Regions from separate parts of the Homo sapiens genome. Here region 2 is linked to region 1. Evidence: promoter capture Hi-C in 16 types of primary human blood cells and fetal thymus (Javierre and others, 2016). All regions are on one chromosome and are shown on one strand. Each heading gives the region's core, a stretch centred on a gene start or on the middle of the fragment in contact. The rest is flanking DNA. Distances are from core to core; before and after follow the strand shown.

What was found. Contacts are between HindIII fragments. The CHiCAGO score rates a contact against its expected background, and 5 or more counts as called.
Region 2: a contact is called between the fragment with the promoter of CA1 here and a fragment that was not itself captured in region 1, in 16 of 17 cell types (M2 macrophages, total B cells, naive B cells and 13 more). The highest score is 10.1, in M2 macrophages.

The regions. Positions count from the first base shown.
Region 1 is chr8:85,995,563-86,003,273 of GRCh38, reverse strand. No RefSeq gene overlaps it. Among named protein-coding and RNA genes, the nearest start is that of PSKH2, 70 kb to the left of the region's middle. RefSeq lists a silencer at 228-428 and an enhancer at 1-922. The HindIII fragment of the contact is 4,134 bases long and covers 1,634-5,767 here.
Region 2 is chr8:85,374,960-85,382,670 of GRCh38, reverse strand. CA1 (carbonic anhydrase 1) reads left to right here and starts at 4,558. Exons shown (of 8, transcript NM_001128831.4): 1 at 4,558-4,625. RefSeq lists a promoter at 3,739-4,530. The HindIII fragment of the contact is 5,896 bases long and covers 1-4,765 here.

The sequences.
Region 1 (7,711 bases), core at 2,451-4,950:
TCCCAAGGCCCCTACAGGGTGCCTGAAACTGTGGATGGTATGGAACCCTGTATGTACTATGTTTTTTTTTCTATAGATATATACTTATGACAAGGTTTAATTTATCAGTTAGGCACAGTAAGAGATTAATAATAATAACTAAGGTTAAACTAGAACAATTATAATAATATGGCAGCATCACTAGTCTTGTGCTTTGGGGACATTATGTAGTAAATTAAGGGTTACTTGAACATAAGCTCTGCGATAACTCTACAGTGAATCTGATAAACAGCTACTGAGTGAGTAATGGGTGGGGACTGTATACAGCGTGGATATGCTAGACAAAAGGATGATTCACGTCCTCGGCAGGTAGGAGCAGGATGCCATGAGATTTCATCACACTTCTCAGAACACTGTGCAATTTTAAAGTTATGAATTGTTTCTGGGTAACTGAAACTGCACAACATGAAACCATGGATAAGGAGAGCCCTATCGTACTGGTATCATCTATGATTAATTCAAATGTGTTGACGCATCATTGAACTTACGTGATTTATGAAGGCCAATTTCTTTAGAATATAATAACATCATGATGTTTATTACTTGGCAGGCATTTGCAGGTGTTAATTCCCATTATGAGGCACGCACACTGATGGCTACACAGCAGGAAAAATCTCCTATTGGAGAATACAATTGAGATGTACAAGGCAGGGGGCATTTCGTGCTTGATTCTTTTCTCCATGGAGAATTTGGAAGATGATATTATTTCAGTCATTTAAATATTTGTAGAAATTACTCTCTTTAGGAGGAATAACATGATGCCAACATATTGTGGGCTCAAACAAGCATCAGAAAAACCATGTCGTCTGGTCAATGTCTACTTTTCCTTGTGACATTTCCCATCTCTGAATCCCATGGCAGTTCTGTCTTTGGAATCATCTGTGCAACTCTCTAAGGACATGTGGACACCTCTTCACTTCTAGGTAAAATCACATGTTAAAATTGTCTGTGGCCATCTGTCCAGATAGAAAGGAAGTGAACTATGTGCCTACTTGTCAAGATGCTTCAGTATTTATTTGGGAGTAAGAGGCAAGTCTTGGTGAGATGGCACTGTCTGGTCAACTTAACAGAACGTGCAACCCAGATGAATCCGAAGTGGGAATGAGGGTCCCAGCAGGAATAAGCAATGCTTTCCTCCCTTATTCCCTGCTTCTTCCTCCCCTCTCTTTGCAGTGTGCCTGCTGAGACCCAAGCTGTCCTGAGGAGAACAGCTGCTTTATGCTCAGGAGATCTGCAGTCAGGGCTGCTGTGTGCTCCTTTTCAAGGTGGTAATTTCACCAAAACTCATCGAGGAAGATGGTGGAAAGGCTCCTGTCTTGTCAGTTTCTCCTTGAGAGGAAAGTGAAGCTAAAATAATCTTCGTAACGAAGTTGCCAAAAGAAAAATGCAGGAAAATCCTATCTTGCCAACACAATTTGATCTTGTGTAGCCTGTTAGAAGGCAAACTTGGTTCCTCATAAAAAGGCACTTGGTCTGGCCAGGACCTGAGTCCACTGACTCAGCTCTGCAGTCATTTATTCGTTCACTCAACAAAATATTTTTGATTGCCTAGTACATGTGAGTAAAATACTGTGCTTGCCTATTTTAAAAAGCTTCAATAAAAACCTGGTACCTTCATTTTACTGCTTGAGAGCAGAATGGTTTTGAAAAATACAGTGTGTATTTTAATGTACATAATTCTGGTTCTAGAGTCCATGAAATATCACCTTTCTTTCCTCATATATTTAGGGTGCATTTAAATAAACAAGCTGGCAAAATTTCACTTTTTCATCTTCATCTAAAGATATTTCTAAGCTATGCCTGAGCAGTAAGTTTCATAGTCACATACCAATGTAGCTACTGACCCAATCGGCAGGATCTTTTCTTATACACACTTGCCAGTGGAGGAGTTTATGCTTGATCATTTATATTCTCACACCCAGTTTTCAGGTCATGTTGCTAGAGACCTGCACAACCAGCCTGGGTAAGGGAAAGAATGGAAAGAGATTTCTCTATGACAAAGAAGTGAAGTGATCCAAAATGGAATTAAATAATAGCTTGAAGTTGTAACCAATAGAGCTAACTAGGTTTGCCTTGCACTACTGAATTGGCTTACGTGCACTGCTTAATGGAAAGACACAGTGGACCATTCTCTAGCTCATGAGGCAATGGCCTTCTGTTTAAGTTAAATTATATTTCTATATGCTTCTGTCAGTGCCTCTCCATCCCCATTTAAAGCATTCAGCAGTCCTATGAATACTTATTCAATGGATTTTCCTTGATTGGCTGTGAACTTCAAGAAGGCAAAAATATCCTCACTTCCTTGGTTCACTGAGAGGGATAAACCCAGTTCTAGCACTAGCACTCAATAAATTATACAGAATTTAGTTAAAATAAAAAATTGAGATTTTTTATAGGCATGGATGACCCATAATTATTTAATAATAACAAAATTTAAATACTATGACTTTATTCTGCTATTACAAACTTAGGAAAAATTGTTTGATTGATTAGGATTTTAGTTACTATACAGAAAATAAAAAAATTGTGCATGGAGTATTCCAGAAATGACCCTTTTATGTCAATTCTTGATATATAAGGAAAAGTATATTTCAGATAGAGATGTGTTTGTATACAAAAAAGAACAGTTTTATTTTCAGAGGCAATTCAAGGATGTACTGTCCATAGCCTCCTGTCCTCTATTAGCATTAGCTACAAAACACAACCTGTCCAGGGACATTTGTAACATTGCACAAGAATTTCATGGTGAAAATCTGAGGCTTATGAGTCATTAATGATTGTTTTACTATTTCATATAAAGAGAAGGCAGTAAGTAATAATTAGGTTTTTAGAGGTAGGTTTTTGGTGTCATATAGAAGGCAGTGCATAATTCCCATTAATAATAGAATTTCTGTGTTGAATTATCTACACACCCAACGTGCATATTTACCCATTCATAGATGGTCTCTAAAACATGAGAATATGTGTAACATATTGCTTTGACTACTTAATAGCAGTTACTTCCAGTATAGAAATGATTTAGCAACAATAAAGATTATGTGTTCTGAAGCATAAGAGCACCTTGAAGATTGCTCCGGAGAATTTTTCCTGAGGCTTTCACTATTGTATCAGCTTCTCACTGGTGCCCATTACTTTAGCAATAATTAAAATGAGGTAAACATATCCTAAGAGCGTTTAATATAACTGTGTTAATGAAATTGTCTTCTAGTTAATTAAGATTCTGAATGTTAATATGGTCATAGCTGCTACTGACAGTACTGTTCAATTTCATGCTGGCTTCTGAAGTGAACGTAGCATTACGCACATTCTCTGTCCACTGGGTTTCTAATCGGAATGGGTTGCAGGCAAGGCACAGAGAAAGGATAGGAATCACTCAAGGGAAAGGGGCTTTTGATAGACTGGAGTGCAGGAATACTGTACTCAGTATTATGCAACTGACTCTGGAAATCTTAAGGTGACTGAAGCTGGTTCTTAAGAAAGGTGAGTTTGAGAAAGAATTAATATGAGGAAAGGAAAGGAAACAAGGTAATGAGCTTATTTAGTTCATTCAAATGCAGATAAAGAAGTAAAGTAAGATTGTGAAAAAAGTAAAGGACCTAATAAGGATTTTTGTTTATTTAGGCTGAAGAAATTGGATGCAGTTACACCAAATATGCAGGCCAGGGAGGAGGGTCCAGTGGTCTTGAGGGGCTGCTCATATTTGATCTAAAAGGTTAAGTATAGTTCCTGGGAAGAAAGAAATAAGCACGGTAATATGGTCACAGAATGCAAAACTATAGACACCTTTTTGTTAGATATATATTAAAGAAAGCTGGACCCAAAATTGTATTCTAGTCCCAGCTGTGCTGTTTTCTGACTGTGCAATTTTAGAAAAATCATCCAACTCCTTTTAGTTCAGTTCAACATACTTTTTTAAACTATGTGGCCTGCCCTTTGCAGGGTGCCAGAAACAGATTAAATATCTGCCCTCAAGGAAATTGCAGTGCGGTGGAAGAAGGTGCCCCATAGATGGACTAAACCTCAATCTTCCTCAGCTGCAAAATAAAGATAATATGTATCATTTTGGTTCAAATGTGTTTCCTAGAAGGTTAAAAATAAAAGTTTACATCAGTAAAACTAATGGTTTAGTAAAATTAATATTTCAAATCAGTTTAAAGTATATAAAATTTGCACAGTAATTCCAATTTGAATGTTTCGTTTCATTTAGTTGAAAGAAAGGTTTGGTAATGACTTATCAGACATCACATAATCTTAGTTACCCTAGTGCCCCATGAGGAAAGGTTAATTTTCTATGTGAAGGTGTATGTGCATGTGTGTGTGTCTGTGTGTGTGTGTGAGAGAGAGAGAGAGTGAGATGGTGGGGGTGGGCAGGGTTTGTCCTAGCTAAGAAGGGCCTGACATTTGGAAATATCTGTTGTTAGAATAAGGTAAGACCTCTGTTGCTCAGGCATCTATTTGCAACCACCATTCAACATTGGACCTAAGAGTTTCCTGGGAAAAAAAGTTGAACTGTGTCTACAAATGAGTTTCAAGAATATATAGCCTTATCTTAAGAAATGAGAGGACTGAGATGGGGAGAGGCAGCATTTAAATTTCAAGGGGTAGCCTAGGAGAGAAGTCATCCTAAGGGAAGTAGTTTAGCCATGGCATAAATAAGACCTGAGCATTGATGAGCACTGATGAGCACTGATGAGCATCCTTAGCACCACATATAGGCCATTACCTAAAACCAGCCTGGTGGAGAGGTGTCTATGGAATGAAAGATTTGAGTGTAATTCTGTGGCTCCTCAGAGTCCTGTTGTGGGACTCTTTTTTTTATAGATGCAATGGAGGAGAGAAAGGCTTTCAGCTTTTCATTTGCAACTAATTTCTAAGTAGTTCTGGAACCACAAGTTTAGATGGCTCTGCAGTGACAGCATAAGCCACCATATTGCAGCAGACAAACTTTGGCTCAGAGCTGAGCATTGAGCAAAAATGGCAGCATAGGCAAGTGGCAGCCTGGAATGAAGCATTGATAAGACTGTGGTAGCTCAGCAGAGCCAAGCACTGATCACTAGTGATGAGAGGTGAGCCCAGCTCCAAAATGATTTGAAGATGCATGTAGACATCCTCAGCAGTTCCCAGAAACCCCAGAGTTGTAGAGAAGCTGAAAGTGCAGCAAAGATGATGGGCAGATAAGATCTTGATGTTAAAATTCTTGTAATAGAATTGGCATCCAAAGTGGAACCCAGAAATGGAAACTAGAAGATGCTATTGTCACTTTTCAGGAGCTCAGCCAATCTTACCTGAGCTCTAGTTTAGCATATAGTTACATTTTAAATTAATCACACCTTTTCCATTAGAATTAATTGATTTATTTATGACAATGGGACTGACACTGTTAAAGAACTGATGCTTGGAATGGATGTAGACCCTTAGAAATCCAGGCTTGAGCAAATATGTGAACTACAGCAAGTTTGAATTAAGATTCCAGAGGCCTTTTTAAAGACTCTAGTCATATATAAAACACTTGGCATGCGTGTTGGAAGGAAAAAAATCATGAGTGCAAGGCCCATTAGTTTGCTGCCAATGAATCCTCAGAAAGATACAGAGAAAGTTATTCTTAAGTCACCCTTCTAACATCCTATCTTAGATGTTGATTTTTTTTTAACCTTTAGCTAGATGTGGGGCAAATACTTTTATGGAACCAGAATCTTTGGATATGAGATCCATTTTATAACACTAAGCTTCAGCATGCCAAGCTTGGAGAAAGAAAGTTCAGTTATTACCAGAAGTCATCCAGTTTTCCCCTTGGTCATCATAGGTCACAGCTCTCTCCAGCTCAACTCCATGAGTACTTCCTATGTGTATGGTGCCCTGCTAGGTTACTACAGCATCCTGGGAAGCACATGTAGAGGGTGTGCCATAAATGCCAAAAGGAGTTATTGACAAGGCGTTCCATCCTAGTTGGAGGCACCAATATATATGTAATAGAAATTAATAAATAAGCTGGACATGGTAGTTCACACCTGTAATTCCAGCAGTTTGGGAGGCCAACACAGGAGAATTATTTGAGGCTAGGAGTTCAATACCAGCTTGGGCATTATAGTGAGACCCTTTCTCTAAAATACATATATATATATATATTAGCCAGGTGTGTTTTGGGATGTTGAAATGGGAGGATCAGTTAAGCACAGGGGTTCAAGCCTTCAGGGAGCTACGATCATGCCACCACACTCCAGCCTGGGCAAGAGAGTGAGACCCTGTCTCTGTCCATCATTCAGTCAACCAGCCATTGCTGGCATTTGAAGTTAGCTTTAAAGGATACATAGAGTTCTGACAGGTAGAGAAGGTCTGGGAAAAGCTATTAAGGTACATAGGGGGAAATTGTGCATCAATGGAAACTACACATTATCTACAGATTACCCCTCCTGGCTACCTGATTCTATGAGAGCTATTTTACAGTTCTGTAAGTTGTGGGTAACTGATAGCAATGTGTGCTAGCTTCCACAGGCTGCTGTAACTTTGTGGCATAAAACAATAGAAATTGATTCTGTCATAGTTCTGGAGCCAGAAGTTTGAAATCAAGGTGTCATCAGAGCTCCACTTCCTCTGAAGACTCTAAGGGAGCTTCCATTTCTTGCCTCTTCCAGCTTCTGGTGGCTCCAGGCATTCCTTGGCTTGTGGCTGCACCTCTCCAACACCTGCTTCTGTGATCACATTGCCTTCCCCACGTCTGCTGCCAAATCTCCACTGTGGGTGTCTTATAAAAATATTTGTCATTGGATTCAGACCTCAGCTTGGTAATAGAGGATGATCTCTTCAAATTAAAATCCTTAACCTAATTACAGCTTCAAAAAGCATTTTTCCAAATGAGTTAACATTCACAGGGTCTAGGAATTAAGATGTGGACATCTGTTATTGGGCTTCTATTATTCAACCCGCTAAAATGCAAATAAATTTTGTCCATAGATATGCAAATTCAATTTTTCTGGTAAAGATTCAGTTGACTTCCCTACCTCTCAACCCTTTTGGAAAAATCAGGTTTGCCTCTATTTTCACATTCATTTAAATACTCCTGATTTATAAATGAGTCTGTTCTTTAGATTCTCTTTTCAAATGGCAATGACACCTACCTGGTATCCTCATTGATTGAGTTAAATGAATAAAATCTGTAATGTGTTCATTTTATATAAACATAAAAGTTATGAATTTGGGGGATAATTATCTTTTAAAAATAGCTTTAAGAGAAAAGTGCTGATTGAAAAGAATGTTATAATCATTTATTTACTTGTTCTCTCTTTCTCTCTCTCCTCCATTAAAATGTAAGTTTCGGCCGGGCACAGTGGCTTACGCCTATAATCCCAGCACTTTGGGAGGCCAAGGCAGGTGGATCACGAGGTCAAGAGATCGAGACTATCCTAGCCAACATGATGAAACCCCGTCTCTACTAAAAATACAAAATTAGCTGGGCGTGATAGTGCATGCCTGTAATCCCAGCTACTCGGGAGGCTGAAGCAGGAGAATTGCTTGAGCCCAGGAGGCGGAGGTTGTGGTGAGCTGAGATCACCATTGCACTCCAGCCTGGGCAACAAGAGTGAAACTCTGTCTTAAAAAAAAAAAAATCAAGGTTCACAGTAGCAGGCATTTTTTTCCTGTTTTGTTCACTGATGTATTTCTAGTACTGAAAAAG
Region 2 (7,711 bases), core at 3,309-5,808, 620 kb after region 1:
TGGGCTCTCCCACAATACAGAAATGGCACCCGGGTCTCATTGTCAACTGGACCAATTTAACCAATTACTATAAAGGAACTATAAAGGAACATAGAAATTGGTTAAATTGGAGGGCTTCCTACAGACTAATACTGGAGTTAGAGCCTCAGCCATAGATATATTAATTGGCAAACAACCTGACACCCTATTAACCATATGCACTCAAATCAGGCCATATGATTTAAAACCTGTGTACAGCAGAACCCCTCTCATCACACGTCTAGAAAAACCAGGGACTGTTGAGAGCTTTTATATTCAGCTGCCTTTATTTTTATTAATTTAATTTTATTTTAAGTTCTGGGACACAGGCGCAGGACATGCAGGTTTGTTACTTAGGTAAACCTGTGCCATGGTGGTTTGCTGCACCTATCAACCCATCACCTAGGTATTAAGCCCCACATTCATTAGCTATTTATCCTGATGCTCTCCCTCCCCCTGCCATCACCCCCCAGAAAGGCCCCAGTGTGTGCTGTTCCCCTCCCTGTGTCCACGTGTTCTCATTTTTCAGCTCCCACTTATAAGTGAGAACACGAGGTGTTTGGTTTTCTGTTCCTGTATTAGTTTGCTGAGGATAATGGCTTTGAGCTCCAGGATACAAAATCAATGTGCAAAAATCACAAGCATTCCTATACACTAACAGTAGACAAGCAGAGAGTCAAATCATGAATGAACTCTCATTCACAACTGCTGCAAAGAGAATAAAATATCTAGGAATACAGCTAACAAGGAAAGTGAAGGATCTCTTCAAAGAGAACTAAAAACCACTGCTCAATGAAATCTGAGAGGACACAAACAAATGGAAAAACATGCCATGCTCATGGATAGGAAGAATCAATATCATGAAAATGGCCAAAATGTCCAAAGTGATTTATAGATTTAATGCTATTCCCATCAAGCTACCGTTGACTTTCTTCACAGAACTAGAAAAAAACTACTTTAAAAGTAATGTGGAACCAAAAAAGAGCCCATATAGCCAAGACAATCCTAAGCAAAAACAACAAAGATGGAGGCATCACGTTACCCTACTTCAAACTATACTACAAGTTTACAGTAACCAAAGCAGCATGGTACTGGTACAAAAACAGACACATAGACCAATGGAATAGAATAGAGATCTCAGAAATAAGACTGCACATCTACAACCATCTGATCTTTGACAAATCTGGCAAAAACAAGTAATGGGGAAAGGATTCCTTATTTAGTAAGTGGTGCTGGGAGAACTGGCTAGCCATATGCAGAAAATTGAAACTTAACCCCTTCCTCACATCTTACACAAAATTAACTCAAGATGAATTAAAGACTTAAATGAAAACCCAAAAGTAAAAAAAAAAACAAAAAACCCTAGAAGAAAATCCAGGCAATACCATTCATAACATAGGCATAGGCAAAGATTTCATGACAAAAATGTCAAAAGCAAAAATTGACAAATGGGATCTAATTAAACTAAAGAGCTTCTGCACTGCAAAAGGAGCTATCATTAGAGCAAACAGGTGACCTACAGAGTGGGAGAAAATTTTTGCAATCTATCTATCTGACAAAGGTCTAATATCCAGAATCTTCAAGGAACTTAAACAAATTTATAAGAAAAAAAATGAACAACCCCATTAAAAAGTGGGCAAAGCCCATTAACAAACACTTCTCAAAAGAAGACAAATATGTGGTCAAGAAACATAAAAAAAGCTCAACCTCACTGATCATTACAGGAATGCACATCAAAACCACAATGAGATATGATCTCACACCTGTCAGAATGGTGATTATTAAAAAGTCAAGAAACAACAGATGCTGGCGAGGCTATGGAGAAATAGGAGTGCTTTTCCACTGTTGGTGAGAATGTAAATTAGTTCCACCATTGTGGAAGACATTGTAGCAATTCCTTAAAGACCTAGAACCAGAAACAGCATTTGACACAGCAATCTCATTACTGGGTATATACACCCAAAAGAATATAAATCATTCTATTATAAAGATACATGCTTATGTATGTTAATTGCAGCACTATTCACAATAACAAAGATGTGGAATCAACCCAAATGCCCATCAATGATAGACTGGATAAAGAAAATGTGGTACATATACACCATGGAATACTACGCCACCATAAAAAGGAACAAGATCCTGTCCTTTGTAGGGACATTTAGCTGCCTTTAATTGAGACTTTGATTGTACCATTCAGATTCTGGCACTTTGGTCCAATTATAGGAGTATTCTGGATGCCAGCATCTTTGCTAGCTGTGCACCCACAAAGCCTTTGACTTAAAAGACATTTGTGAATCAAGCTCCCAGGACCCAACATTGTATTCAAATTCTACAAATGACTCAGCCCCATTATAACACCACAGAGTCACAAAAATACAGCCCACATCAACCCTAGTGGGTATCCATGTGGGAAGGATACCCTAGTCCGACACTGCCCTAGCTCAAGACCATGCCATTAAAGATGACATGCCCCCTGCCTCCCAACCAACTATGGGCAGTGCCAACTACACTAGCACATGGAATGTCTTGCCATTCATAGGAGACCAGAGGCTCTTGGTTTTCCAGTAGCTGGTTACACTGCTGACTTCTGTTTTAAAAAAGCAAGACCCACAACACTGGAGTAACTTTCCAGACTTTACAGACACCTATAAAACTCGAAGTTCTGCTCTCTGTGATTGTAATTCCACTCTATACCTGGCTTAGCCCTTATGAGACCAAGTCCAATACCTCCCTAATGCTTCTAAGATTCAGGTTCCTGCTAATCCCACCCACTTCTCCTGCCTAAAGGGTAACCTGACTGAAGTATTCCACCCTGTGTGCTCTCCTAGGAGTAAAAGGAGCATCTGCTGGTCTCCGACTGTCAAACCATTTATTCCCTTCCATCCTCCTCGCCTTCCCTTTCTCATTGTCAGTATCCCTACTCCCACCCCTATCTTTTCCGTCCTAACAGCATCTTCTCCTCTTGCCCTCTAAAAGACTACGTAAGTAAAATTCAAACCCACTGCCCCAGCTTCTCTGATATTTATACAGACATCCAAAATACAAACACATTTGACTGAAGTAGGCTCTTCTGCACTGACTATCCATAACTCATCACCCTGCTTCCACATATCCCACATCACACATTTACCCAACTGATAATTGCCCCAGAGATGAAAAATACTGAGAAATGAAAACCACTTCCAAACGGCCTTTTCTTCTGTATTGGGGTGCCCCCTCATGGCAAGTGGCAACTGCACTCGTATTTCCTCAATACATACCACAGATGGGCTACCCAATGAACAACTGCATATTCTCACCATATGCCCAACAAAAGCCACTGTCTTCCTCCAGTCCCATTCTTTAGTAATTTCCCTTTACCTAAATCAAGGTACAATTTTCCAGTCTAATGGTAATGCCACAAAACTATATTGTGTCCCAACCAACAAGGGTGTTTATCCCCTCTCCTTTGCCCTTCCATTACTCTGAAACTGGAAGCCACGAGATGCATTCTGGCCTCTCTTGGCATTCCTATTTATATAAATGTTAATTATTCTTTCCCTACCCAGCCAAATGTCATTGATGTGCCACATTTGTACCTATAATACTGGGACTCACCACTGCTCTGGGACTTGCTGCGATGGCCACAAGGACCATTGCTTTAGCCCAACAGTCAAAAATAATTGATGCTACCCTACAAATGTCCAAAACTCTAGTATATCATATTTCTAAGTTACAGCAAATATTAGTCCTGCTAAACCAGGGAGCTTTGGCAAAAATGTTTTTTGACAGTAAATTTGTCCTTGATTATATATTAACTAGTCAAAGAGGTGTTTGTAACATTATTAGAGCTTCTTGTTGTAGGTGGGTTAACACCACCAATCAAGAGGTCATTCTAACAGAAAGCCTGGATCAGAAAACCATCACCCTAAAAAAACATGCCTTACATATTTAACACACTCTGAAATCCAGTCAAAATATGACTAAAGGCCCTTGCCATGACTGATGTATTCTCCTGGCCAACGCCAAACAAATGGGAGCCTGGTTACGAGTCAGCCTTCAGGGACTTGTCACATTTCTACTTGGTTTCTTCCTTGTTATTGTCATAATAAAATGTTTTCTATGCTGTTTAGTGCAACTTAGGCCCTATTCTGTAGAAGTCTCCTCTACTATTCAGGCCACTCAAACACCCCAAATAATTGAGTTCAAAATCGACATCAAGATATAAAGGAATCAGTGACTAAATATATTTCATATATGGTATTTTTATTGATTATTGTGCTGTCTTGACCTAGTATGGAGGCCTTGGCTAGAGGCTGGTCAGTTTCCTCTCTTGAGCAGCTGATTAAATCCACACCCCAACCACTTCCCTTATCAGGTTCTCACACTCTGGGGCCACTATGTACCCACTCTAATCACCACAGGGCCAGACATCAGACAATTAAGGACAGCGCCCATGCCCCAAAGCCCGCCAAAATTATGCAAATTATTCAAAATTATTCAACCTAGCTAACCCCACCCTTTTTGCTGTACATAAGCTGCCCATTCCCCCTCCAGCCTGTGGTACCCAGTCCTCAGGTGCAACCCCCTGCGTGGTCCTCTGTGGCAGCCTTCTCTCATTCAGAGCTGTAAGTAACAAAGACTTCTGCCTTTCATCTAGCTGAGCATTGAAGTGTTTTATCCGACTGCCAAAAGAATCTTTAAATCTTGTAAAATACAGTCCTACCTACATCTTAATTACTATTCAATGAATGAAAGCTGCAAAGCTTAAAAAACCTTTATAGTTTTTCTAAACCTTTTATATTTATCAAGCAGATCTCTGTAAATCTGTAAATCTGAAAAGGATAATATAAATTACCTTTTTTTTTTTTGAGACAGAGTCTCACTTGGCAGCCTAGGCTGGAGTGCAGTGGCACCATCTCTGCTAACTGCAACCTCTGCCTCCCAGGTTCAAGTGATTCTCCTGCCTCAGCCTCCCGAGTAGCTGGGATTACAGGCACATGCCACCACACCTGGCTAATTACTGTATTTTTAGTAGAGGGGATTTCACCATGTTTGCAAGGCTGGTCTCGAACTACTGACCTCAGGTGATCTGCCCTCCTCAGCCTCCCAAAGTGCTGGGACTAGAGGCGTGAGCCACTGTGCCCAGCCAATATAAATTACCATTTAAAATTATTCCATGACTAATGTTCAATTTGACGTTAATTCCCCTAAACAAATAATGCAATTGATAGACTTGGTTAATTAAGTTCCTTTAAATATTATATATTATATCAATTACAAATTTAGTCTACCTGAATCTCTCAAGCATTTCAAATGCCTGACACATTAGTATCTTTTATACATCTTGCAAGTTTATAAAAGGAGGGAGGGGGCTCTAATAATTAAAGCAATTCCAGTAAAAGTAATAAACCAAATTTATGCAGTAGTAAGTTATGTTCTCTTAAACATTCAAACACTGTGTATAGACTGAAGAAAATGCTCTTGTACTTTAAAATTGAAATTATATGGTTCATATATCTGATTTTCTAATATATCAGGTTATATTAAATGCTTCAAGTAACTTAACAAACAATCTTTCATAGGTTATCTCAAGGATTAAATAATTAAATTTCTAAAGTTAATACAAATGTGTTAATATTGTGGATTTGACTAACTTCAACATTCTTATAGTTATTTCTCTCTTCTCCCAGTATTGTAAATCCACTTATGCAAATAAAGAGAATAGATAGATGTATGATCTGATTGGGCTGAGGATACTGTATCAGAGAATCAAGGCCAGGGTTGAAGTGTCAGTTAAAGAATTTGAGAGAGGGTCAGGGACCTAATTAGGTACCACACATGCCCAGGGTGCCTCTACACGACCCGAAAGTCAATCTGCTGGGCATCTCCTTGAGGTAACAGAGCTTTCCAAATTCACACTGTTTCATGCAGTCTAGTATATCATGTGTACCCTTACCTAGTTTTATTTATTTATTTATTTATTTATTTATTTATTTATTTATTTATTTATTTTTGAGACAATTTCTCTGTCACCAGGCTGGAGTGCAGTGGTGTGATCTCAGCTCACTGTAACCTCTGCCTCCTGGGTTCAAGCAATTCTCTTGCCTCAGTCTCCGGAGTACCTGGGACTACAGGCATGTGCCACCACGCCCGTCTAATTTTTGTATTTTTAGTAGAGACAGGGTTTCACCATGTTGGCCAGGATTGTCTCAATCTCTTGACCTCTGATGATCCGCCTACCTCGGCCTCCCAAAGTGCTGGGATTATAGGTGTGAGGCACCGTGCCCGGCCCCCTTACCCAATTTTTAAAGTTACCTCTTTTATAACTTTTTTGTTTTTTTGAGACAGAATCTCACTCTGTCACCCAGGCTGGAGTGTAGTGGCATGATCTCTGCTCACTGCAACCTCTGCCTCCCGGTTCAAGCAATTCTCGTGTCTCAGCCTCCCGAGTAGCTGGGATTACAAGTATGCGCTACCACACCCGGCCAATTTTTGTATTTTTAGTAGAGATGGGGTTTCGCCATGTTGGCCAGGCTGGTCCTGAACTCCTAACCTCAAGCGATCCACCAGCTTGGACCTTCCAAAGTACTGGGATTAAAGGCATGAGCCACCATGCCCAGCTTCTTTTATAACTTATAACTGTGTAATTTGATAGTTGAAATTCCCTCTATAGGATATTATTCACTACTCGACTGAATTCAATCTCTTTATTGCCTGATTGGAGTCAACTTGCTTTTTACATGTTTTATATCCAGTTCAATATCAAGAATCCTTTTGTCATTTTATTGACCATTCCCTACGTGATTAACACTATCTACTGAATACTGTATCTCAGAATATTACCTACATTTGCATCAAGCTCATGATCTATAGCTCACCTACATCCACCATTCTATTTTTGAAATTTGGGATAGCATGTGCCAGGATACAGTTGTTCTGCCTGAGTCTTCACTGCACCTCGAGTTATTTTGAGGTTCATCCATCTTATCTGAACTTTCTCCGTGCTCTGGATTTTATTCCTCTCCAAGAGACACAAACTCATTTAGAGCATGTAGATCTTCCCTTGGGATGTTTCTGCCTATTTTATTCCTTGTTTCTATCATGCCAACATTTGTTCTAATCTTTCTATTTGTTCTAATCTTTTTTTTTTTTCAAAAGAAAAGGAAAAAAACAGGTATTTTATGGCACCACTGGTCAGTGTAGGGCGGGTGGGTGGCACATGGCATTAGATGTGCTAGTTGGGCAGAGCTGTGCTGTTAATTTTCTGAAAGTGGTAACAAAATACATAAAATAAAACAGTGCAATGCCAGGACAGGCCAGCATGCGATAGGTGAGTTCTTCCCTCCGAAGCCTTCTTTCCAGGCTGTTTCATGTGTCTTTCTTTAGTGTGTCCTTCCTGTCTAATTAGGTTTCTCTCATTGCCCTTGTCCTAATGTTTTACAATTATCTAAGGTGGAATAGCACAGTGGAGAGAAGCAAAAATGTTGGAGTGAGACAGACTTAGGCAGAGGTGGCAATATTGTAAAAATAATGATGCTTAAGCTGTAAGACCATTCATTGCTTGATTTACTTCCAAGATCCCAGAAGGGCACAAGAAATGTGTTCACACAATCATATGTTTTATATAAAATTTGCAAAAGATATTTAACCACAATCAGTCAACCCCATTATCATTTTACTCTGACTGTACGGCATCATATTTCCTGTATCA